5 separate regions of the Homo sapiens genome follow, and regions 1, 2, 3 and 5 are each linked to region 4. Evidence: promoter capture Hi-C in 16 types of primary human blood cells and fetal thymus (Javierre and others, 2016). All regions are on one chromosome and are shown on one strand. Each heading gives the region's core, a stretch centred on a gene start or on the middle of the fragment in contact. The rest is flanking DNA. Distances are from core to core; before and after follow the strand shown. Region 1 overlaps VPS13D (vacuolar protein sorting 13 homolog D). Region 2 overlaps VPS13D (vacuolar protein sorting 13 homolog D). Region 3 overlaps VPS13D (vacuolar protein sorting 13 homolog D). Region 4 holds the start of AADACL4 (arylacetamide deacetylase like 4). Region 5 overlaps VPS13D (vacuolar protein sorting 13 homolog D).

Evidence for each region. Contacts are between HindIII fragments. The CHiCAGO score rates a contact against its expected background, and 5 or more counts as called.
Region 1: a contact is called between a fragment that was not itself captured here and the fragment with the promoter of AADACL4 in region 4, in 9 of 17 cell types (total CD8 T cells, naive CD8 T cells, M2 macrophages and 6 more). The highest score is 10.2, in total CD8 T cells.
Region 2: a contact is called between a fragment that was not itself captured here and the fragment with the promoter of AADACL4 in region 4, in 10 of 17 cell types (naive CD4 T cells, total CD8 T cells, M0 macrophages and 7 more). The highest score is 9.9, in naive CD4 T cells.
Region 3: a fragment that was not itself captured here is called in contact with the fragment with the promoter of AADACL4 in region 4 in 2 of 17 cell types (M0 macrophages and M1 macrophages); the score reaches 6.1 in M0 macrophages.
Region 5: a fragment that was not itself captured here is called in contact with the fragment with the promoter of AADACL4 in region 4 in 3 of 17 cell types (M1 macrophages, M0 macrophages and naive CD4 T cells); the score reaches 7.8 in M1 macrophages.

The regions. Positions count from the first base shown.
Region 1 is chr1:12,410,821-12,415,696 of GRCh38, forward strand. It overlaps VPS13D (vacuolar protein sorting 13 homolog D), which reads left to right. Exons shown (of 70, transcript NM_015378.4): 64 at 4,267-4,401. Among named protein-coding and RNA genes, the nearest start is that of SNORA59A, 94 kb to the right of the region's middle. The HindIII fragment of the contact is 5,438 bases long and covers 209-4,876 here.
Region 2 is chr1:12,395,100-12,399,586 of GRCh38, forward strand. The region is part of intron 60 of VPS13D (vacuolar protein sorting 13 homolog D); the gene reads left to right. Among named protein-coding and RNA genes, the nearest start is that of SNORA59A, 110 kb to the right of the region's middle. The HindIII fragment of the contact is 1,918 bases long and covers 1,405-3,322 here.
Region 3 is chr1:12,450,637-12,455,430 of GRCh38, forward strand. The region is part of intron 65 of VPS13D (vacuolar protein sorting 13 homolog D); the gene reads left to right. Among named protein-coding and RNA genes, the nearest start is that of SNORA59A, 54 kb to the right of the region's middle. The HindIII fragment of the contact is 734 bases long and covers 1,795-2,528 here.
Region 4 is chr1:12,641,859-12,646,779 of GRCh38, forward strand. It overlaps AADACL4 (arylacetamide deacetylase like 4), which reads left to right and starts at 2,227. Exons shown (of 4, transcript NM_001013630.2): 1 at 2,227-2,856. The coding sequence starts at 2,689. The HindIII fragment of the contact is 15,531 bases long and covers 1-4,921 here.
Region 5 is chr1:12,430,033-12,434,441 of GRCh38, forward strand. All of the region lies in intron 65 of VPS13D (vacuolar protein sorting 13 homolog D), which reads left to right. Among named protein-coding and RNA genes, the nearest start is that of SNORA59A, 75 kb to the right of the region's middle. RefSeq lists an enhancer at 3,455-3,599 and a cis regulatory region at 3,522-3,532. The HindIII fragment of the contact is 6,682 bases long and covers 1-4,409 here.

The DNA.
Region 1 (4,876 bases), core at 1,678-4,177, 230 kb before region 4:
TTGCAGATAAATTTGGTATTTTACCACATCAACACGATAAAATAGAATATGATTATTTAAAAATGCATAAAAGCTGTTTGACAAACTTTAACATCCATCTACAGTAAAAATTCAGCAAGCTAAAAATAGAAGATAACTGCTTTCATCTGTTTAGGTCTATCTGGTAAAAAGCTACAACAAACATCATACTAATTGGTGAGATAGTAAAAGCTTTTTCTTGAGATAAAGGAAAGATACCCATTATCACCACTTCTTTCACCGTTACACGGGAGTTCAGCCAGTAAAATAAGTCAAGGATGATCTTTTTGAAAAAGAAGTAAAAGGCATAGGAGCTGGAAAGGAAAATAAAAAGTTCGTTATTTGTAGAAAACACGATCGTTTACTAGAAAATCTAAAAGTATTTTCAGATTAGTTATTAGAATAAGTAAATTTAGTAAGGTCACTAGAGACAGTATAGAAAACAGTTATATTTCTACATGTCAGCAATAATAACAGAGAAAAGAAAAATTTGGAGGCTATTAAGAAAACAGGTCTGGGTGTGGTGGCTTACACCTGTAATCCCAGCACTTTGGGAGGCCTAGGTGGGAGGATCACTTGAGCCCAGGAGTTCAGGGCCAGCCTGGGCATCATAGGGAGACCCTGTCTCTACAAAAATGGAAGGAAGGAAGGAAGGAGGGAGGGATAGAGAGAAGGGGGAGGAGGAGAGAGAGATGAGAGGGAAGAGGAGGGAGGGAGGGAGGGAGAGAAAGAAAACATTAACTACTGTATCATTATCTATTATTGTGTAACAAATGACGCCAAATTGCAGTGGTTTAAAACAACCACCATCTTATTTGTTTACAATTCTGTGGGTTAATAATTTGGACTAGACCTAGCTGGGTGTTTCTTCTGCTGGTCTCACCAGTGGTTGTTCATATGGCTGCACTCACCTGGCAGTTAAACGCGATTAAATGGTATGAGATGACCTCAGTCTCATGTCCAGCGGATTGGTGCTGGCTGTCAGCAGAACCCCTTTCCACATGGTCTCCCATCTTCAAGGAAGCTACTCCCAGCTTCTTCACGTGGTGGAAGCATCAAAACAGGCAGTGCAGAAGCTCCAAGCTCTCTTGAGGCTCAGGCTCAAAGGTCACACATTATTATATCTCTCGCATCCTATTGGCTGAAGCAAATCACAAGGCTAGTGAAGATTCAGGTGGAGGGAACATAGACTTCACCACTTGACAGAAGATGCAAAGAATATGTGGTCATTTTAAATCTACCACAGTATCTAAGAATAAACCCAACCAAAGACGTATAAGACCTCTACACAGAAAACAATTAAACATTATTGTGAAAAATTAAAGACCCACATAGATGAAGGGACATACCATGTCGATAAGTTGGAAGATTCGGTAAAGTTGTCGTTGCTCCTCAAATTGATCTGTAGATTCAGTACAGTCCTGATGAAAATTCCAGCAGTTTTTTTGGAAGCAAATTGACAAGCTGATTCTAAAATTTCTCTGCAGTTGAAAAGCGCAAAGAGCAGCTAAGGTAACCCTGGAGAAAAAGTACAAAGTTGGGGAGAGCTTACACTATTCGATTTCAGAAATTATTACAAGACTACAGTAATTAAGACAGTGTGGCATTAGTAGAAAGCAGAGCAAAGTGAAACAGAAGAGAGAATCCAGAAATGGATGTATAATACCATCACGTGACTTTTGACAGCATTTATGCCATACTGCGGTAGTGGAACGGATGACCTTTTCAGTAAATATTACTTAGTTCAATATTTATCAGAAAAAAATGAATCTTGGCCACTCCCTCCTACCGTACATAAAAATAAATTCTAGGTGGAGCATAAATAAAATCTAGGTGTGAAGAGTAAAACAATAAAACTTGTATAAGTAAACGTGGGAATATCTTTATGACCTTGGTGTAGACAAAAATTTCTTAACCAGGACACAGAAAGCTCTTACCATATAAGAAAATATTGATAAGGCAGATTTCCTTAAAATTAAGACTGTCTGATCATTAAAAGACACCATTTAAAGAGTAGTAAGATAAGTCACAGAATGGAAGAAGATATTTGCAACACATCTGTTCAACAGAGGACTTGGTATACAGAATATATAAGAACTCCTACAAAGCAGTAAGAAATAAAAAACATGAACTCACTACAAAAATGAGCAAAATACTTCAATAAGCACTTCACAAAAAGATATCCAAATGGCTTATGCATTTAAAAGTTGCTTAATCTCACTTCTCAACTGAAAAGAGACTACGCTGAGGTACCATTACACACCCATCAGTTTATCTGTCAAAACTATGCTGAGATACCATTACACACTGTTCAGATTTTCTGGGTGTTTTTTTGTTTGTTTGTTTGTTTTTGTTTTTGGTCGTTGTTTGTTTTAAGTGACAGGGTCAGCCACGGTAATCCCAGCACTTTGGGAGGCTGAGATGGGTGGATCACTTGAGGCCAGGAGTTGAGCAACAAAGTGAGACCCTGTCTCTCCAAAATAAAAAAAAAAAAAATCAGCTGGGCGTGGTGGTATGTACCTGTAGGGGGAGGCTGAGGCAGGAGGATCACTTGAGCCCAGGAGGTCCAGGCTGCAGTGAGCCAAGATCCCGCCACTGTACTCCAGCCTGGGCAACAGAGACTTTGTTTTCTGTTTTTGAGAAAGAAAGAGTGAGGCAGGGTCTTACTCTGTCACCCAGGCTAAGTACAGTGGCATGATCTCAGCTTAGTGTGGCCTTGACCTTCAAAGTCCAAGTGATCCTCCTCCTCCAGCCTCCTGAATGGCTGAGACTACAGGCGCACGCCACCATGCCCAGTTAATTTTTAAACTTTTTGTAGAGACAAGGTCTTACTTCTTCACCCAGGCTGGTCTTGAACTTCTGGCCTCAAGCGATCCTCCCACCTCAGCTTCCCAAAGTGCTGGGATTACAGGCATGAGCCACCACTCCTAGCCAGAATATCTTTTTTTTTTTTTTTAAACGATCTATACCAAGTGTTGATGAGGGTGTAGAATAGCAAGGGATCTTGTAGACTGCTGAATGGAGCATAAACTGGTTTGACCACTTTGGAAAACTGTTTGGCAGAATATATTAAGATTGTGCATGTACATTCTTTATGACCCAGTTCCACTCCCAGGTATATGTCCAAGAAAAATGCATAAATGTGCCCCAAAAGACATAGCTAGGCAGGGAGCAGTGGTTCACAGCTGTAATCGCAGCACTTTGGGATGCCAAGGCAGGCGGATTGCTTGAGCCCAGGTGTTTGAGACCAGCCTGGGCAACATGGTGAAAACCCTTCTCTACAAAAAATACAAAAATTAGCTGGGCATGGTAGTTTGCACATGTAGCCTCACCTGCTAAGGAGGCTGAGGTGGGAGGATCGCGTGAGCCCAGGAGGTCAAGGCCGCAGTGAGCTGTGATTGTGCCACTGCATTCCAGCCAGGACAACAGAGTGAGAACCTGTTATCTAGTCTGCCATAGACATGTCTAATGTTGTTTATAGCAGCATTATTCATAATATCAAAAAGCCTGAAACAACCCAACTTTTGAACTTTTCATCAACAATGGTGGTTAAATACATTGTTTTATTCTTGCAATGGAGTATTTATATGGCAATGGACGTTAACAAACTACAGCTATATGCAACAATCTAGGAAACCCCCATATGTAATGTTGTCTATGAGAAGCCACCTACAACGAAGTGCATACTGATGATTCCATTTATATGCAGTTTAAAGCAGAAGAACTTACCTGTAGTGATAGATGTCATCACTGTGGTTGTCTTTGGGGAGGAAGGAGGAGGGAGTGGGAGCATGCTCATGGTGAGTGGGCTGCTTCCAAGATGGGGATAACAGTCTGCTTTCTGATCTGGTGGTGGTTACATTATTGTGTTCACTTTGGGAAAAATCATTTGGGTTTTGAACTATACATTTGATTAGTATACTTTTCTGTGTGTGTGGTTTACATCAGTCAAAAAGTAAAACATGACAAACAGATACAAAACAGACTAAAAGGAATTATGACACAAACTGATAGTGTTTATTTCTGTGTGATACATGTGACTTGGGTGATATATGTCTGTCTATATATGTATTTTTCCCTAGTATTTTACTTTTATAGTTATAGGGAAAATCCTTATTTATAAACATCAAAACCTGACCCTCATTCGAAAGTTAACATGACTTGTAGCTTTAATGGAATCTAGAATTATAGTATCACAGAAGGCCATCATATGACTTAAGTATGTCATTTCCTTTCTTCCCTAATTAGGCCCTAAAAAGCACCTTGGGGTTTCCTTTGATACGGTTTGAAGACGCTGTGATTAATCTAGATCCATTCACTCGGGTACATCCCTATGAGACCAAGGAGTTCATCATCAATGATATCCTCAAACATTTCCAGGAGGTGAGGCTTGGAGAAGTAATCATTGGCTGGAGCATAAGCAGAATGTTTGTTTTAGTTGTTTGGGAATTTTGGTTACTAAGGCATTACTATTGAGAACCCAGTTAAACATTTCAACTCTGTTGTGTTACGGGTCAGGTCACTTCCCAAGAAGCCCGTATGTGTCATGAAAATCCTGAGATAGTACATTTGACCTATGAGCTGTTAGTTTCATCCCTCAGAGCTAGTCTGAGGGGTTCCTGCTAGATTAATCATGACTCTTAATGGTTTAGTTGATGCTTTAATAATAACAAAATAATGTTTTTATTTACCAGGCATGGGCCTTCTTTCAGCAACTACACCCATGTTCTTAGAGTCTGTGGGATCCTGCATTTGGGTTGAACTTGAAATTTTTTAAATCACCTTGGACATTTTCCATTTTGTATTTATTATCCAGACTGCAAAGATCAAAAAGTAAAGGCAAGGCATAATCTTCAAT
Region 2 (4,487 bases), core at 1,114-3,613, 250 kb before region 4:
TGGGGGTGACTCCTGAGGAGAATCAACATTACTTTGCCTGGCAGCTGCCTCAAGAGAGGTCATCACTGTTGCCTTAGGCAGCATAGGATTCATCTCCTCAGACAAAGGTGGAAAGCTGATGACAGCATGGGTTGAGGAGATGTTGCCACTACTGGGGATGGGGAAGCTCATCCTTCTGGCAAAAAAGGCTCATCAGAGTTTACAAACTCAGTTTCCCCGAGTTTCATCAGGGTCCTCCCACACATCCCCATTCCAAGTTGCAGGGTCCCATTCTTTTCCAATCATTGCCCTCACTTTAACAGCAGACATCTGGTGAGGCTGTGTGTGCATCTTTCGGCGTGCATCTTTCATTGCAGGTCAGCCACTTGCATGACAAGAGCTTGTGTCTGTTTTTCCACAATTTCAGCTCTTTCTCTGCAGGAGATAAGACTCTCACTTAGGGCAATCTTAGCAGATTTGAGGCTCAGTATCTGCTTCTGAAGCTGGGAGACAGAATCCCTGAGTTCATCATTTTCTTTCATTACTTTGTCCACTGAACTTAGGAGCAACCAACCAGCTTCATTATGTTACTTGGTTTTCTACATATGGTCAAAGGTATTATGTATAGAGTCACTAAAATCCTTGCCTCTCATGAGCGGTGAATCAGGAGTGTCAAATGCATTTATTTTGCATAATTCTCCAAACGGTTCACGCCAAGGACTATCAGCATTCTCCATACTATTAGAGGTAGAGTCCTTAGCAATTTTTTGGGGGGCTAATCATATTCAGCAGCCAACTCCAGAAACCCCAAAGCCAATGAAAGAACTCCATCCTTAATATTCTGTTCCTCTAGAACCACACCTGGTACCAAAATCTGTATTAGTCAGGGTTCTCTTAGAGGGATAGAACTAATAGGAGATATATATATATATATATATATATATATATATAGTTCTTTAAGATCAATAAAATTAATAAGCCTCTAACCAGTCTGAGCAGGAGAAAAAGAGAAGACATAGATTATTAATATCAGGAAAGAGAGAGATGCCAGACAAGCCAAATACTGACAAGTCTGGGGATGGGACTCCTGGGGGAGCTGCAAATTCCTTCTGGCTGCTGGAGTGTCTGCTAGGACTGCTTTGTTTGCAGTGTGACTGTAGGGCCGTTGGTTTTCAAGGCTACTGTGGAGCTGGGGTAGGGGTGAAGAGAATAGGACAAATTAAAATGCCACAGAGCTCGCTGTTCTCACTGAGTTTCAGCTTGTTTTCTTGAGTAAATGCTCCTTAGATTGTCGCAAGTTTTTTATTAACTTTCGGAGTTCTGAAAAAGTCGACCTTTACAATTTTTGGCAGAGTACTGTTAGTGTGCTATCAGAACAACTTCTATCTGTTTGTAACATCATACTTGGAACGCTTTTCCTTTATAAGCTTCATCAAAGTTTAAATATGTTCAGGAAACTAGTTCCTGGTAGACATTTCCAGAAGAAGAATCCAAAGCCCCAGACTGTGGTTCTTTTTCCCAAATGGACGAACTACATCCTTACTGGGAGTGTGTGCAATGTGTCTCCCATGACTGGGGCTCCTTCTCTCCCTTAACATGTCATGCGATTCCATCCAGATTGTCGAGGCCAGAACCTCTTTTCAGAAGAAATTTTTCTTTTATTATATATCACGAATAACAGAGAATTCAGGCTAATCGTATCCTATTTATTTGTGCACAGATAGAAAGTTAATATCTTGCAGCTATTTTTCCTTGTCCTCCTTTTTTCGACCTTACAGAGACAATTCAAGGAACCATTTGCTGTTCATTAGTTTCCTTAACTTTATTCTTTACTTTAAAAAGTTGTTTGTTTGTTTATTTGTTTGTTTATTTTGAGATGGAGTCTCACTCTGTCGCCCAGGCTGGAGTGCAGTGGTACGATCTCTGCTTACTGCAACCTCCGCCTCCCAGGTTCAAGTGATCCTCCAGCTTCAGCCTCCCAAATAGATGGGATTACAGGTGCCCGCCACCACGCCCAGCAATTTTCGTAGTTTTTAGTAGAGATGGGGTTTCGCCATGTTGGCCAGGCTGGTCTTGAACTCCTGACCTCAGGTGATCTGCACACCTTGGCCTCGCAGAGTGCTGGGATTACAGGCGTGAGCCACCACGCCTGGCCAAAAAGTTGTTTTTTCCTATAATACCTCTTTATGTGATGTATGCTGCAAATCATAGAAAATAATCAGGTTTGTACTTTACTGTGGTTACAGTGCTGCAAGAAGGAATTTTTAAAAATAGAAAATAGAGATCCTCTCCTTAGGCAGCATCCGATCTAATTAGGAGAATAAAACTAGGTAGAGTTAGTAATTCTCAGTTACGACGCCTTGTGTCAGATGTGTTTAGTGAAAGAACAAAGGAGAAGACAATATGGTCGAGCCCTTTATTGCCATTTCATATTTGGATGAGATAGGTAATGATTCATTCATTCAGTCCATTCTTACTGAGCATCAAGTGTGTGCCCGACACTGTACTAGGTTCTGGAGATATGGCTATGACTTCAAAAATGCAGGCTTTGCTCTTGAGCCAACAGCCTAGAGAGAAAGTCTGCCAATAAATATGCAGGCAGGCAAGCAAATGAATAATGACATTCTGTGATAACTGCTGTAAAGAATAGCTACTTTAGATAAAGTGCTACTTTAGAAAAAGTGGCTCAGGAAGATCTTCCTGAGGAAATGAGAGCTGAACTGAAACTTGGAGGAATAGAATGAGCAAACCATAGAGATGGTCACTAGAAACCATTTCAGGCAATTCAGAGACCCTGAGGAAGGAAGGACTTGCCCACATTTTAGAAACAATAAGGAGGCTCAGGTGAGGATGGTAGGGAACCTGAAAGAGTGGTGTGTGATGAAGCTGGAGAATTTGGTGCCAGTTCATGCAGGCCTTAGAGGCTGTGGTGAGAAGTCTGGTTTATCCTAAGAGAAAGGGAAACCACTGAATAGTGTAAAGGAAGGGTGTGTATGACTCGATTTATAGTTTACTGAAAGATCACTTTGGCTGCTATATAGAGAATACATTGTAGGAGGAAGGAATGGAAGTAGGAAAAAATACTCCAAGTCTCTTGCCCTTATCCCTGCCCTGAGAACAAACAGAAGAAAAGTCATTTCCAGTTGTACAGAAATGTCTATTTGGAAATCCCTGCAATACAATGGAGAGGTCAGAGGATTCGGTGCCAGAAATCTCTGCATTTGTATCCCACCTCTTCCACTTACAAGCTGTGCGAATGAGGGCAAGTAGTTTAACTTTTTTTTCTTTTTTTTTTTTTTGAGACGGAGTCTCGTTCTGTTGCCAACATAATTTAACTTCATTAAGCTTCTGTCTACTTGTTTGTAAAATGAGGAGGAATAATACCTAGCCTTTAGGGGTTTAGGAAGTGATATGATAGGGGGTGTGTGGAAAGTACCTGCAGATGGTCTCTTAGGGGTACCCAAAAAGATGGTCTGTCCTCTTTCCTCTTCCTGGTGGTGAACTTCGATGTGAGACAGAACAGGAAGATGGCTGCTTCCTGCAAGGAGCCTCTAGACATCCATGCATGTCTGAGTGTGGCAAGTGTCCTCTGTGATGGCACTGATACTGATCAGGGCTGTGTAAATAGAGTCAACCCTAATGCCGCTGACTTAATCGTTTCGTTCCCGAGAAGGGAGTTGACCTTAGTAGAGGAAACTGTTACAATTTGGTAGCCATTTGAGCTCCTGGTTCTCTAATTTAAATTGTCTTGAAGGAATTTGGAGCAAGAGAGAAGCATCGATAGCATAGTGTTTAGGAGTGCTGGCCTTGGGGTCAGACAGACCGAGATTCAAGTTCTAGTTTTGCCACTGACCAGCAGTGTGACCTGAAGCAAGGGCCTCTCTTCTCAGCTTCTTCCTCTGTGATATAAGGACAGAGCTCATGAAGTTGTCATAAGGATGGCAGCAAACCCTTAGTTTAACCACCAGCGTTACAGGTATGATGTGACTTGGGATCATGCATATGAAGTGGCTAGCATGGAGCTTCGCACATAGTATCACCTGTTTTATTTTTTTAATTAAATTTTTTGTTTCATTCAGCAGGTTGTGGACTTAAAAAATTACTTTTTTCAAATAGTTGATTTTTTTTTTTTTTTTGAGACGGAGTCTCTCTCTGTCACCCAGGCTGGAGTGCAGTGGCGCTATCTCGGCTCACTGCAACCTCTGCTTCCTGGGTTCAAGTGATTCTCCTGCCTCAGCCTCCTGAGTAGCTGGGATTACAGGGGCCCACGACCACGTCCAGCTAATTTTTGTATTTGTAGTAGAGACGGGGTTTCATCATGTTGGCCAGGCTGGTCTCAAACTCCTGACCTCGTGATCCGCCTGCCGCAACCTCCCAAAGTGCTGGGATTACAGGTGTGAGCCACTGCGCCTGGCCAGTAGTTGATTTTTTAACCAATGAATAAAAATTGTGTATAGTTGGCTGAGTGCGGTGGCTCACGCCTGTAATCCCAGCCCTTTGGGAGGCCA
Region 3 (4,794 bases), core at 912-3,411, 190 kb before region 4:
AACAAATACTCTACAGTGGGCCCTGCTGCCAGATGACTTCGCCCAGCTGTCAGCTAATGTAAGTGTTCCGGGCATGTTTAGATATGTTAGGTGTATGAAATTCATTTTTACTTAAAGCCTTTTCAACTTAAAAATGGGCTTACCCGGACGTAATCCCATCATAAGTCAAGGAGCATCTGTACTTGGAAGAATATAAAACTTCTCCATCACACTACGGAGTCCTGCCACTTCTCTCTTTTCCTGTTGTATTTGGTTACCATCTTCCCTGGTGACAAGGAAGATACTGCCACCAGCAATTACTCAGTGAGGCAAAGATATTAAAGAGGAAATTTCCATTAGGTAAATAACTGTGAAAGAAGAACCCAAGAGAAGGGAGAGAAATTCAAGCCCCAGCTCCTGTTACACTGGCCAAATGCCTTTGGCACCCCATGCTTGCTGAAGATCATAAAAGGGTCAGGTAAACTGATCAGACAGAACAGAGGAACACAGTGTGAATTTTTTCCCTTGCCCCATTCCAGTGTCTACTTGAATTTCAGTTTTAGAAAATCAACCCTTCGGAGCCAGGCCCCAAACCCAGGCTAATTTGCAGTGTCTCCATTTGTGTAGACAATGAGATTATTTTGGGAAGGAGGGTGTTGACAGAGTGTGTGTTAGCTATTCAGTAGAACTGGCATCTTGAAGTACTTCTGAGATTTTTACCCCCTTGCTGAAAATATTGCTTTATAGAAGTTAATGACTTTGGACTGTGGCCAGAATTCACAAGTATGGCATGTGTTGAAGTGAAAGGAAGGGGAAAATCATTGTCTTTGTGAGTGTAACACTAGATTTTCTGAAGGACATTTTGTTCCTTGGAACCTTTCATTTTAGCTAGAACAACATGCACTTGAAGCCTTAAGTATTTTGTGGACTTGAGATTGCTACAAAATGAGGTAGGCAGACTTAAGTCTCTGCAAATGCTCCTTCTGGTGTTAAGGTATTATAACCAAAGAGTTACAAATTGTCTGCAGATTACCTTCCAGTTGCTAGTCGCTTTCCCAGTTTAGAAGCCTAGCACACCCTGGTGCTGTTATGCCCTGCTGCAGATAGCTTCCGCTTTGCTGGGGGGATATGCCATGCCAGATGCTTTACGTGCACACTATCCCTGAATCCTCAAGACAGTCCTGCAGAATCTGATTATTCCCATTTTGCATATAAAGAAGTCAAAGTTTAGATAACATAATACTATTTTTATTGAATGTCTCATATGTATCAGGCTCTGTGCTATGTGCTTTACATGTATTACCTAATCCTTACAGCATCTTTGTAGGGAATATTTGTATCCCCATTTTGAAAAGGAGGAAAACAGAGGCCCGCAAAGGTTACTTGTCTGTGATCTCATAGCTGTTGGGTGTCACAGTCAAAATTCAAACTCAGGTGTGATTATCTTTCTATTATGCCACATCCATACTTCCCTACTGAGGTCTTGAAGGCAAGAGACAGAAACCACTTCTGATTTCTGATTCTCTGTCTCTAGCCTGCCGTACAAGTAGGGCTTCTGCACATGTTGGATTGCTTGGTTGACTGGGTGTGTAGTGGATTTGTACTTGCTCATATCGGGACTCATTTTTCCTTCGTCTGAATAATCTGGACCTCTATCTCCAGGCTTTACTTGTCACAAGACAGTGGGAGGATGGGATCATGAAGGATGGCCTGGGCCAGTCACTCCCTACATGATGGTGTAGCTCTTTTGGGTATCTCTGCCCTGTTTTGATGACCATCTTCAAAGTCAAGGACCTGGGTAAAATAGTGCTTCCAAGCTTCAGAGAAGAGCAAGGCCAGAGGGCACCCATGATGAGCACCACTGGAATTCCCTCCCTCCACAGCCCACTTGTTTTCTGCTGTCTTTGAGGGAGAAATAATGGCTGGGCAGGACTTACCTTCCCACTGAGGTGGGGAATGGGGTAGAATTAAGGATGCCTAACTAAATGCCTCCATAGTAAAAGGAGGCCACATGCTTTATGGTAGCCTGGATTCAATCCTCAGAGTGCAGTGAACTGGCCCAGGGCCCTGCCTTTACCACTGTATCCATCATTTGGCTGGCTTTGGTTTAGTTTCTGTAAAACGTCTTTCCCAGTAAAATCTGATTAACTACTCATCAATACAGGTTTGGTTGGATCATAGATTTCAACATCTACTCAAGTTTTCTGGGTTCTCAAAGCTGTATTTCTAGGGGTGAAGACTTTTGTAATGGTTGACTGTTAACAAGTGGCAAAGGACAAGTCCAGTTGGCTTGCATAAGCAATTTTTTATGGACAGAGAAACAGGAATTCAGACAGAAGTCCTACAGTAAGTTGAGATAGGTGTAGGTACCTTTCCATGGCAAAGGTCTTCATCTTACGGAAGAATCCAGCATTAGAGGGAAGAGTGATCTCTTAGGTCATCTCATCCCATCCTCCTTGGGTCAATACATTGTCTTTGTATAGAGAACACCCAGGACCCAGTTGGTGCTGGGGAGCTGAGGCTGCCACAGCAGACTTAGTTGGAAATTAAGCTTTTGGCATAGGCTCACTCATCAACTTTGGATATTAATTGATGGGAGTAGAAGAAGAGGGAGTGATATTGGGTATTCTGCCTAGATTATTCTCCCATATTCTCTTGGTGGGGGAGTATTATAGGATTTTTAACTTCCTCCTAGTTAGCTGCCAGCGATAGGTAAAGAGCACTTTACCCTATCTGTCTTCCAAGAAAGAGAATGTAAGCTCTTAGAAAGAATATAAGAGCTTGAGAGAAACAGGAAAGACCTGAATAAGACCCTGAATTGGCTGCGGTGCTCCTGGGTCTCTTCAGGTGGAGATGTGTCCCCTGGAGACACACAGGACATGGGCACGCGTCACTTAACTGTGGTTCTCACAGCGTCTGGGGCACCAGAGAGACACGTTTTTGTCTGGAACCTGAAGAACGCTGGCAGCCTACATAATTCTAAACATAGCAGGCACTCTTATTGATTCTTTCCAAAACAAAGGTCACATTTCCTTTCTGTGTAGTTTGTGTCCTGGGTTCCTGCTGACTGTTTTGTGTATACGATTGTTACCTTCTCAAAGAGACTGTCAGTTCTTGAGGGCAGGGTTCAAGGCTGCTGTTTGTTTGTGTTCTTCAGCAGTACCTAAATCTGTCCTGGGCTCAGAGGAAGTATTTAGTAAAGACATTCTACCTTGGGTTGTAGGTCACACAGTGCCAGAGCTGGAAAGGATTTTGGAAATCGTAGAGTCCAACACTCTAATTTTGTAAGTGGTACCACTCCAAAAACTTACTTGGGAGGCTGGTGTTTATCTGCTGGAAAGAGAGGATTTTATTATGTTAAACTATAGTGCAAATGACCATAATTCTAAACCTTTGACAGGCTTCCCTCAAACGCTGCAGGCATGTTCCTCCTTGGACTAGTAGCAGAGTAATAAGAACAGTAAGAATGCTAACTAGATACCAGGCCCCCGAGCCATTGTCATGAATGCTTCCAGCCACATGACAAAGTAGGTACTCTGGCTATTCTCCAGATGCAGAGGAGGCTCAGAGGTAGGTGACCTCGCTCAGGGTCATGTAGTTACCAGAATGGTCGAGGGAGGACTGAAGTTTGGTCAGATGCCCCAGCTTGTGGCCCTTCTCCTATACTGTGGTAACTCTCAGATGGGGTCTCTGACTGAAGCCACTCCTTAGTGATTCACGGTGCTAGCTTTGCAGCGTCGTGTGGTGTTTCCAGTTGTCCTAAAGGAAGTTATTAATTTTCATTAACTTTAATTCTCTCATTAGACAGGCAGTGATATGGAAGGCAAGGCAGAAAGCAAACAAATAATGATAGGGGTTACATCTCCAGAAAGGTCAGGAATCACTGCCCTAGGTTGTAAAATATTTGGACTGAGTAAAAGGCATGAGTCTTCCCATAGCTTCTTCCAGGAACTGTTGCTTTACATGGAATTGCTGCTGTGTTCACTAGTCCCTCTTCTGTGCCCAGAACTCACTGTCACATGTGTCAAGAATCCTCATGACTGAGGTTTCCAGGGCAGATCTGATCTGTGTAACACGCACCCTAACCCCCTTGCCAAAGGAGAATGAAATAGGCCCCTAGATGGCCACCCAGTTCCTGGGCCTTCCAGGCAGGCAGCTTGCCTTGAGGCTTTCCCCTGAGCCTTGTATCTAAGGAACATTCCTGTGAGTTTTCTAAGAGGTTAGTCCTGGGTCATTGGCACTTAAACCACTTGTTTTGGTAGATCCTTCCTGAGAAGGTTAATTATATATTTGATATCCTTCTCTTTTTATGCCTGAATGATGAGGATAAGTACTCTGTGGTTTATTAACTGTCACTTTAAACCTTTTCAGATTGTCTTGTGACAAAACAGAGTTTTATGTCCTTTTTATCCCAGCTTTGATGGATGAGACAGCTTTTCTGGTTAAAGTATGCCAGGATAAATAAAATCTCTGAATTGTGGAAAGGGTGGGTTTGCATTTGAAATCATGAGTTCAAGTCTGCCACCTCCTATGAACGGTGACCTAACCTGTTAATCTTTCCATCGATTTCGTTTTTGGCTTTTGACAAATGGAGCTTGGCACCTCATAGGTACTCAGTAATTATTGAATAAATGAAAGACAGCATTACTGGAGGGAGTTTGATGTCTCCAAATATTTGATACCAAACCCTAAAGCAACAATCTGACACATTTCCTGTTTTGAATTCCACTAATTCTTAGAGCAAAGAGCCTATGTTCTTACCATGATACAGTCCTGAAGCTCACTTCTCCCTCAAGACTATTTTGTTATACCTCT
Region 4 (4,921 bases), core at 977-3,476:
ATATTTTGTATTTTTAGTAGAGACGGGGTTGCACCATGTTAGCCAGGATGGTCTTGATCTCCTGACCTTGCCCGCCTTGGCCTCTCAAAGTGCTGGGATTACAGGCCTGAGCCACTGTGCCAGATGCACTATTTTTTTAATTTTTATTTTCATAGAAATGGGGTTTCACCATGTTGCCCAGGCTGGTGTTGAACTCCTGAGCTCAAATGATTCACTGCTTTAGCCTCCCAAAGTGCTGGGATTACAGGCACGAGCCCCTGTGTTCTGACCTTCTTTATTTGTTTAATGATGTGGATAAGCTATTTCAGTAAAGTCTATTTCCTTTGCAGTGTGCAGCTTCTAATATCACACCTCAGGTGGTGCAGCCTTGGTCCTGTGTACAGTCACCCTAAGAATGCAGTGTTTTCCACAGGGCTGTCTTGACTTTCTCCTTCCCTGATCTCTCTGTTAAGCTCTGTGCCTCTGTTGGTCTCACACCCAACTATTAGCCTCCACTAACTGCAGGCTAATTGTCCTACTGTTTTCAAAAATGCTCTGGGGGCAGTAATTGCGCTATCTGCTTTTCCAGGCCAAGCTCCTCCCGTGTGTGCTATCTTCAGGGGTATCCATAAACATGCTTAAGAAACCAAAAATTACATTATTTGTCATGAGTTTTAAAAAGATAATTACACCTGGCCGGGCATGGTGGCTCACACCTGTAATCCCAGCACTTTGGGAGGCTGAGATGGGTGGATCACGAGGTCTGGAGATCGAGACCATCCTGGCTGACGTGGTGAAACCCCGTCTCTACTAAAAATACAAAAAAATTAGCCGGGCGTGGTGGGGGGCGCCTGTAGTCCCAGTTACTCCGGAGGCTGAGGCAGGAGAATGGCGTGAACCTGGGAGGCGGAGCTTGCAGTGAGCTGAGATCACACCACTGCACTCCAGCCTGGGTGACAGAGCGAGACTCCATCTCAAAAAAAAAAACAAAAAACAAACAAACAAACAACAACGACAAAAGATAATTACACCTAGCCAGAATAGTGAATCTTATAACCCTCTAAGAGAAACCTAAGTAAACTCTTACAAAGATACAATGACGTAAAAACACAAAAATCTGCCATGCATATACTCACTGGGGTAAAGCCTCTTCTATAACTTTTGTTTTCTGAAACAAACCAAACAAACAAACAAAAAACCAAAAACCTAAAACATAAATAATAGGAATGAAAAAGGGGGTCTGCCTTCTAGTTCCAAGCTCCTGCAGCACTCGGAGGTTAATAACTTTCCCTTCCAGTCCCCTTGGGTGGTTTCACTTCAGAGTGCCTCCAGTAAAACACCTCCCTGTGAATAAATGGCTTTCCCTAGCACCCAAGGGAGCAGATTTTCAGCAAATTTGTTGAGTGTGTGTGTCAAGAGGAAGACACCAGTGAGTCCCCCTGGTGTAGCAGTTGAGCAACTTCTTTGCCAGTTCAGCAAATTCACACTATGCCCTTTCCAACAAGAGCTGGGTCTCATCCCTATGGGTGGAAACGGGGTCTTTCTTGGGTGCTCTATTTAAGCCCTAAGGGTAGTGGTATTTTCTTATATGTATAGTTTCTATATTCTCCCTTTTTTTTTTTTTTTTTTTTTTTTTTGAGACAGAGTCTCGTTCTGTTGCCCAGGCTGGAGTGCAGTAGTGCGATCTCGGCTCACTGCAACCTCCAGCTCCCAGGTTCAAGCGATTCTCCAGCTTCAGCCTCCCGAGTAGCTGGGATTACAGGCATGTGCCACCATGCCCGGCTAATTTTTGTAGTTTTGGTAGAGAGGGGGTTTCACCCTGTTGGCCAGGCTGGTCTTGAACTCCTGGCCTCAAGTGATCCTCCCAGCTCAGCCTCCCAAAGTGCTGAGATTACAGGTGGGATTACCACCGTGCTCGGCCCAAATTAAAATTTCTAAAATTTTCAGGCTCAAAGCCTATTTCCTGAAATGGTTCCAATCATTTCTTTCTCTCTTAGAAGAAAGTAACGTGGATAAAAATTGTCCCCAAACCAGCCCTTGGCACCATTTTTAGAGGCGGAATATGAGGCTGGATAAAGCCCAGTTTTGCCTGCAATGGCATTCCTGTCTCCCGTCCCAGGACCCCAGAAGATTATGACTACCAGAAAACACGCCAGTCTTTGCCCTGATCTGGCCAGAGGCCCAGAGGGTACATAGGCGGTGACAGAGTGAGACCTTGTTTCAAAAAACAAAACAAAACTGGGGTTAGGGAAGCTAGCTAGGGAGCTGGGGTGAGACGTGCTGTGCTCACCCTAACCACACTCTGACAAGGAAAGCTGGCGAAGTCTCTTATCTTACAGTTGAAAGATCAGGCCCTGGAGGCCTATATAACCCATATGAGATCTCTTTCTAGGGTTCCCAGGAGCCGAGGTGCCCATCTGAGCCTGATCTTCCTGAAATCTTTGGGAAGCTCACCTTCCAAGACTCCCCATGATGAGCAGTATTGATTTTTCTGGGTCCCCACATTGCTTAGGGAAATAGGTTCCTCCACCTCCCATTGGCCTTTTTGTGCTTACCCTGAGAAGCTGTGTCAGGCCACTGTGTCAGGTGTCAGGCTTAGCCCAGAGAGAGTGAGGTGGAGGAGGCGGAGGGTGTAACCCAGCCAGGTCCTCTTCACATAAGCTATCAGACAAGCTCCTCAGGGCAGCAGCTCCTCAAGGCCCCAGGAACATGGCTGTCCCCTGGCTAGTGCTACTCTTGGCATTGCCCATCTTTTTCCTGGGGGTCTTTGTCTGGGCTGTCTTTGAGCACTTCCTCACCACGGATATCCCTGCTACCTTGCAGCATCCTGCCAAGTTGAGATTCCTGCATTGCATATTCCTCTACCTGGTCACTTTGGTGAGTTTACTCTCAGGCCACGTCGTAACCTGGGGGCTTCTTCTCTTGTTCTCAGTACCTTACCCTCTTTTCCCTCTTTCACTTCCCTTCTGTCTCTCTCTCTTCGGACTCCCTCAAGATAGACTTGTCTCTTCTGTATCTGCTATTCTGTTTGCCTCTCTCTTCCCTCCCTCCGTTCCTTCCCCCTTCCCATAGCCTGCCTGCCTTTCTTCCTCTCTCCCTCCCTTCCTTCCCTCCTTCTCTCCCTCCTTTCCTTTCTTTTTTCCTTCTTTCCTTCCCTCCTTCCCTCTCCTTCCTCCTTCCCTCATTCTCTCCCTTCCTCCCTATCTCCTTCATTCCCTCCCTCCCTTCCTTCCTTCCCTCCTTCTCCGCTCCTTTCCTTCCTTTTTCCTTCTTTCTTTCTCTCCCTCCCTCCTTCCTTCCTCCTTCCCTCCTTCCTTCATTCTCTCTCTTCCTATCTCCTTCCTTCCCTCCCTCCTTCCTTTCTTCTTTCCCTTCTTCCTTCCTCCCTATCTCCTTTCTTCCTTCCCTCCTCCCTCCCTCCCTCCCTCCCTCCCTTCCTTCCTTGTTTCCTTCCTACCTTCCTTCCTTCCCTCCTTTTGTTCCGTTCTTCCTTCCTCTCTCCTGCTCTCTCTAACTCCCTTCCTTTCTTCCTTTAGCATCAAACATTTACCGAGTGCCAATCACTGGGCTCTTTTCTGAGAATTCAAAAACAATTTCAGACCCAGTTCCTGCCTTCCCCGGGCTTGTGGCCTGACAGCCCCTGCCCCTCCTTCAGCCGCGCACACTTTCACCCTCAGTGCACTGACTTACCTATAGGTTGTTTCTATTTTATTTTACTTTTTTGAGACGGGGTCTTGCTCTGTTGCCCAGGCTGGAGTGCAGTGGTGCAATCATGGCTCAGTGCAGCCTCAACCTCCTGGGCTCAAGCGATCCTTTCCATCTCAGCCTCCCAAGTAGCTGGGACTACAGGTGCGCACCACCATGCCCGGCTAATTTTTGTACTTTTGGTAGAGACAGGGTTTCGCTATGTTGCCCAGGCTGGTCTAGAACTCCTGGGCTCAAGCAATCTGCCCGCCTTGGCCTCCCAAAGTGTAGGGATTGCAGGTGTGAGCCACTGCACCTAGCTTCACAGGTGTTTTTTTCCTTATTCATCTCTGTAAGCCCAGTCCCACTCACAGAGCCTGGTATCTGGTAGGTGCTTACTTTTGTTGGTATACATGAATTTACCCAGCATTTCTGAGTGGCCGTGCCAGCCAGGCTCTGAGCAGGGCTTGGGGATTGGGGGTTTGGGGTGGACCAGCATGCACCCAGAGTTGCAGTGGATTTGGAAACAGTGGTGTGACATCTTGTTTGTGGCAGGCAACCTGAGTTAACCCCAATGTCCCAACCCTAGGTGGAGACCTTATAGAAGCCAAACAGCTCCTACTGATTCCAGGGCAGCTGTGGAGGAGGATGAGGAGGCCACGCTTAACTGACAGCAGGGCTTAGGAATAAGGAACAGAGACAGCAGCCGGACTGCCTGAGTGTGTGTCCCAGCTCTGTCACTCACTCGCTGTGCGGTCCTGCACCATTTACTTAACCTCTCTGTGTCTCAGTTTCCTCATCTGGGAGGGTTAATATGTCTAGAGATGTTTAGTGAATTCGTAAAATACATCTCTGTGCTGCTGGAAGTGTTCCCCATGGGTTACAAAAACATTTTCTAAAAGATCACTTTTAGAGACACCGACAAGTTCAGTGTGCAGTGGCATCAATGCCACTGACGCAAGGAGACAGGACAAGGATGTAGAAAGTACTCGTGTCCTCTCATTTGGAGAATGCAATCAGCCTGGAATTAGGCAGTCTCAAGCCAGTGGCTGCAATCCACATGGAGTTACTAGTTGGGTTAGAGCCCCAGGATTTAAAACGAGGGCCTAAGATGTTCAGGTGGCCCAGAGAAATGGAGATTTTTCTGTCAGTGTTTCTCCTCAAAAGTAGCCCACAAGCTAAACATCTACTGATGACAGCTGCTATGGGCTGTTCACAGGGGACTCTGAGATGGGTCTGCAGCCGCTGAAAGGGTGGA
Region 5 (4,409 bases), core at 135-2,634, 210 kb before region 4:
GAAAATTAAGCAGAACATGCTTCCCAAACAGCCCCTTGTCTCAGTTTTGTTGCCATTGTAATGTTCAAAGCAGGATATTGTGGCCATTGAGGTAATTTTCTCTTTATTGGTAACTTGGAAATGAGCAAGGATCATGCCAAAGTTAGTTATAAAAGAGGAGGCACTCATGGCTCCTTGTAGTTTTATAGCAATTCAACCTTTGTAGCGTCCTCCTGTTACTATTTGATCTTCACAAACTTATGCATTAAAGAGTCAAGTTTATCCCCATTTGACGGATAAAGAAATTGAGTCACAGTGAAGGTAATTAACTTCTGGAGGGTCAAACAGGGAGTTTGTGGAAGAGGACCAGGCTCTTTACAGCCCCAAGCTCTTTTCAAAGACCATACTGCTGCTCTAGAAAGCACTCTTTCCTCCTTCAGGAATTAAAGCACTTTCACGTCTGTGAGATAATTTAACCTTGCAACATCCCAGTGGGGCCAGCAGGTTAGGTATGATTATCATTTCCCTTCCAGTGATGGGAAATTAAGTTACACAGGTTAAATGGTTTTGCCAAGACCGTGCAGTCAGTGTTGGAACCAGGGGATGGTGCCCAGGCTTCACAAACACTGAGCCCACTCTTTTCCTACCACACTAAGCCTTCTCAGAGGAGAGCCAGAGGAGCTTCTGATGCCTTGAAGACAGCTGTGAAACATCTTGCTTCCAAGAGGGCCTTGCTTTCCTAGCACCCACGCCAGATTGTGTGAATGCTTGGTTCTATAGTCTCAGCGGGTCATGCAAATCTCCAGTCCTACGATCACTAAGAAACAAAGCAAAAGGGGGCAAAGCCAGATAGATTTTACCAGCCTGTTTGGATTTTGTGTCCAGTAGAATTAGCAAGTGAAAGTTGTAGGATTGCTACAGAAGAGTTGCTTAGAAATCAATTAACGTGACAAACTGAGGTGCCTCAACAAATAAATTATATGGAGAGATAAAAGTTGTTAGGACTAAACACAGGAAGAATTTGCCACTTGTTTCTCTGTAAAAGGTAAAAACATAACAGTGAACTGTGTCTAACTTATGTTAAAAAATTGAATTTGGTGAGAAGCCTAGTTTTAATAATATTTCATATGATAATTTAAACTCTCTAACTTTTGCCTATTTAACCCCATCTTGTATTCTTCCTAAGAGATGTGTCAACACTAAAACTTTTCTTAGTTATTCCAGCTGAATATGGCAAAGCTACAATAGCTTTTCCCAGATGCAGACTCTTAACACAATCGCTGATATTCAGTAGAAACTCTTTGGATAGCAGATTTGGGAAAGAACCTTAAGGCCAGCCTTTAGCCCTCTCAAATTATAGGTAGAGAAACTGAGACCCTGTAAGGTTCTCAAAGCTAATTAGTCACAGGGCTAGCCCTCAAACCCAGGCTTTCTGGCTACAGATCTAGTATGATTGTTGAGACTGGGCCGGCAGCTTGTGGGCACCTGCTTGGTAGGAGTGAGGGGGAGAAAAGTAGTAGGGTGTAAGCCTTGCCTACTGTATATCTTCTCAGCGTTCTTTATTTTTTATCCATTTGTGTGTCTGTCTCCCATACTATACTGAGTTCCATGAGTACAAGGGACTAAGTCATACTCGTCTTGGTATCTTTAACCCTAAGCACTTAGCCTGTGATCTAGGAAGCCCTCAAGGGTTTGTTGCACTGAACCAGTCTGTTCTGTGTCAAGGTCAACTTACCGGAAGGGGCTGCAGGTAGTACAGCTCCTTAAAGCACCTTCTATTACTAGTCCTTCAGCAGAATCTTACCCAGTGAGTAAACCCATGCAAAACTTTTGCATCTCTCCTGAAAGCAGAACAAGACCTGCCCCCATGAAAAGAAAGAAATAGGGAATCCCTTTATAATTAGATTTAGTGGGCAGTGGTGAGATGTAGTAGAGATGAAACTTTAATAGACACATAGTCTTTGGGTGATGCCAAAATTAATCTAACTTTGTGGGTTAAAATGAATTTTAAAATTTTTCTAAATGTTCATATGTTTTTCTCTGTATGTTGTTAGAATTGTCATCGGGTTCTTTCTAAAGGCTGTGTGAAAGAAAAGAGCAAGCCAGGTGCGGTGGCTTACACCTGTAATCCCAGCACTTTGGGAGGCTGAGGCGGGCGGATAACCTGAGGTCGGGAGTTCGAGATTAGCCTGACTAACTTGGAGAAACCCCATCTCTACTAAAAATACAAAATTAGATGGGCATGGTGGTGCATGCCTGTAATTCCAGCTACTTGGAAGGCTGAGGCAGGAGAGTCGCTTGAACCTGGGGAGGCGGAGGTTGCTGTGAGCCTAGATTGTGCCATTGCACTCCGGCCTGGGCAACAAGAGCAAAACTCCGTCTCAAAAAAAAAAAAAAAGAAAAGAGCGAAAACATCTTTAGTACTGGTTCTTGCCCTAGGACAGAAGTGGCTGTTTGCTGTACCTCTCAGTGGACACTGAAAATGTGGATGTGTCCAGTTGCCTGCTGTCCAGCAACCCTGGAAGAACTTGTGATGGCTTTGTCTTCGTTATGAGAACACTTTGATCTGAACCCCTTTCCTTTTCTGAATCCTTTCCCTTTTTTTTTTTTTTTTAAGACAGTCTCACTGGCTGAAGTGCAATGGCACCATCTTGTCTCACTGCAACCTCTGCTTCTTGGGTTCAGGCAATCCTCCCAACCCGGCCTCCTGAGTAGCTGGGACTACGGGAGCACACCACCACACCTGGCTAAATTTTTTTTTCTCGTAGAGATGGGGTTTCTCTATGTTGCTCAGGCTGGTCTCTAACTCCTGGGCTGAAGTGATCCTCCTGCCTCAGCCTCCCAAAGTGCTGGGATTACAGGCATGAGCCACTGTGCCTGGCGTCTGAGTCCTCCTTCTAAAGGGAACCCACTGCACAGCATCTGGCTGCTGCCAACAAAATGACTGCCCCACCAGTCCCACAGGTGATGAGAGTTTGCAATGGCCTTCACAGCTTAGTACCTTAGTACCTTTTCTCTCCTGGTAACTTAGAATGGAAGCCCCATGGGGGCCCACGCATATCTGCGAGGGTGCACAGGCATGTGGCAGAATGAGCCAGGGGCCACCCTCTTGTTCTGGAGGTGCTGAGAGCCGGCCTGGCTGGGGGCTGTAACTGTCAGGCTGACTCCCAGCCACACTGTCCTCCCTGGAGTAGGTGCTCGAAACCTTTGCTTTTTGCCTTTTCGCTTTAATCTGGAACGCTTGGGGAAAAAAAAAAAACAAAAAAACAAAAAAACAACAACAAAACAGTAGACCAAATGGTGACTGAGTCCCAACCCTTCTTCAGGCCAGATGAAATCATGGTCCCTGCTGGCGCCATTCCTCCATCTCAGAGCCCTCACTTGGGTTCAGACCCTCAGTCACACAGGGAGCCCCGCCACAGCTGAAGTGTTTTGTCAGAGCAAGATTGCAAAGAGTTAACACTTTTGCTTTTTCGGAAAGTTATCTGTGAAGAGTATTAGTTGTTTAATAAAGCGTGCCTGCCCTCCCGATGAACCCGCCAGTGACTCTGCAGCTGGGGTCATTCCAAGTTCACGCAGTGGACTTTTGACTGCCTTCTGTGTCTGTGAAAACAGTCGGCAGCTCCTGCGGGGATCATTCATTCAGGCCTGTAACACAAAACTATTGCCAATGGGCACCTGCTGGGGCAGCTTCCCGGGAGGGCTGGGAGGAAGATACCAAACTCATCAGGCATCTGTGGAGATAAGAGCGGCAGGGGATCCACTGGGATCCCGCTAATCAGGCCTGCACTTAGACCCCACTGCCTGGCCAACAGGCTGGTGTCAGAATGTATTAGGCAGCCCTGGCCAGGATAGGATGTGAGCTAATTAAAGGCCTTTTACAAAGAGGAGGAGGTAGGGGGTGGGGAGAGAGAGAGAGTGAGAGAGAGAGAGAGAGAGTGTGTGTGTGTGTGTGTGTGGAGGAGGAGGAGGAGGAAAGAAGTTTGAAGTGCATTCCCCAAATTTCCAGCACATTCTTTATTCCTCTGTTTTATCCCTCAAAACAGAAGAAAACAAATTAGAGGCTGAGCATTTGGTTATTTCTAACCTGAAATTGTCATTCATTGTGCCTGATGCCGTATTGGTTTTAACTGCTATTTTTGTGGAATTACATATACTGTGAAAGACATCTTTTGCCGCAGTCTCCCTGGGAACATCCTGTTGTTGAAATGCCGTTGGTCAGCTGCTTGAATTTTGCCCTTTTCTCTGACTTTGACACATCAAGGCAAAAATAGGTACCTATTTGTGGTGTGTTCTAGGTTTCTCCCTTTTGCTTGGAAAATCCACTTGCCAGCTGTGAAGGGTGCTGCTGGGAGGATGAAATGAGTCAGTGCACAGCGTGTGCTCTTAAAGTTTGGTGGTTGAGGTGGCGGTGGTAGCAGCTTGGCTCT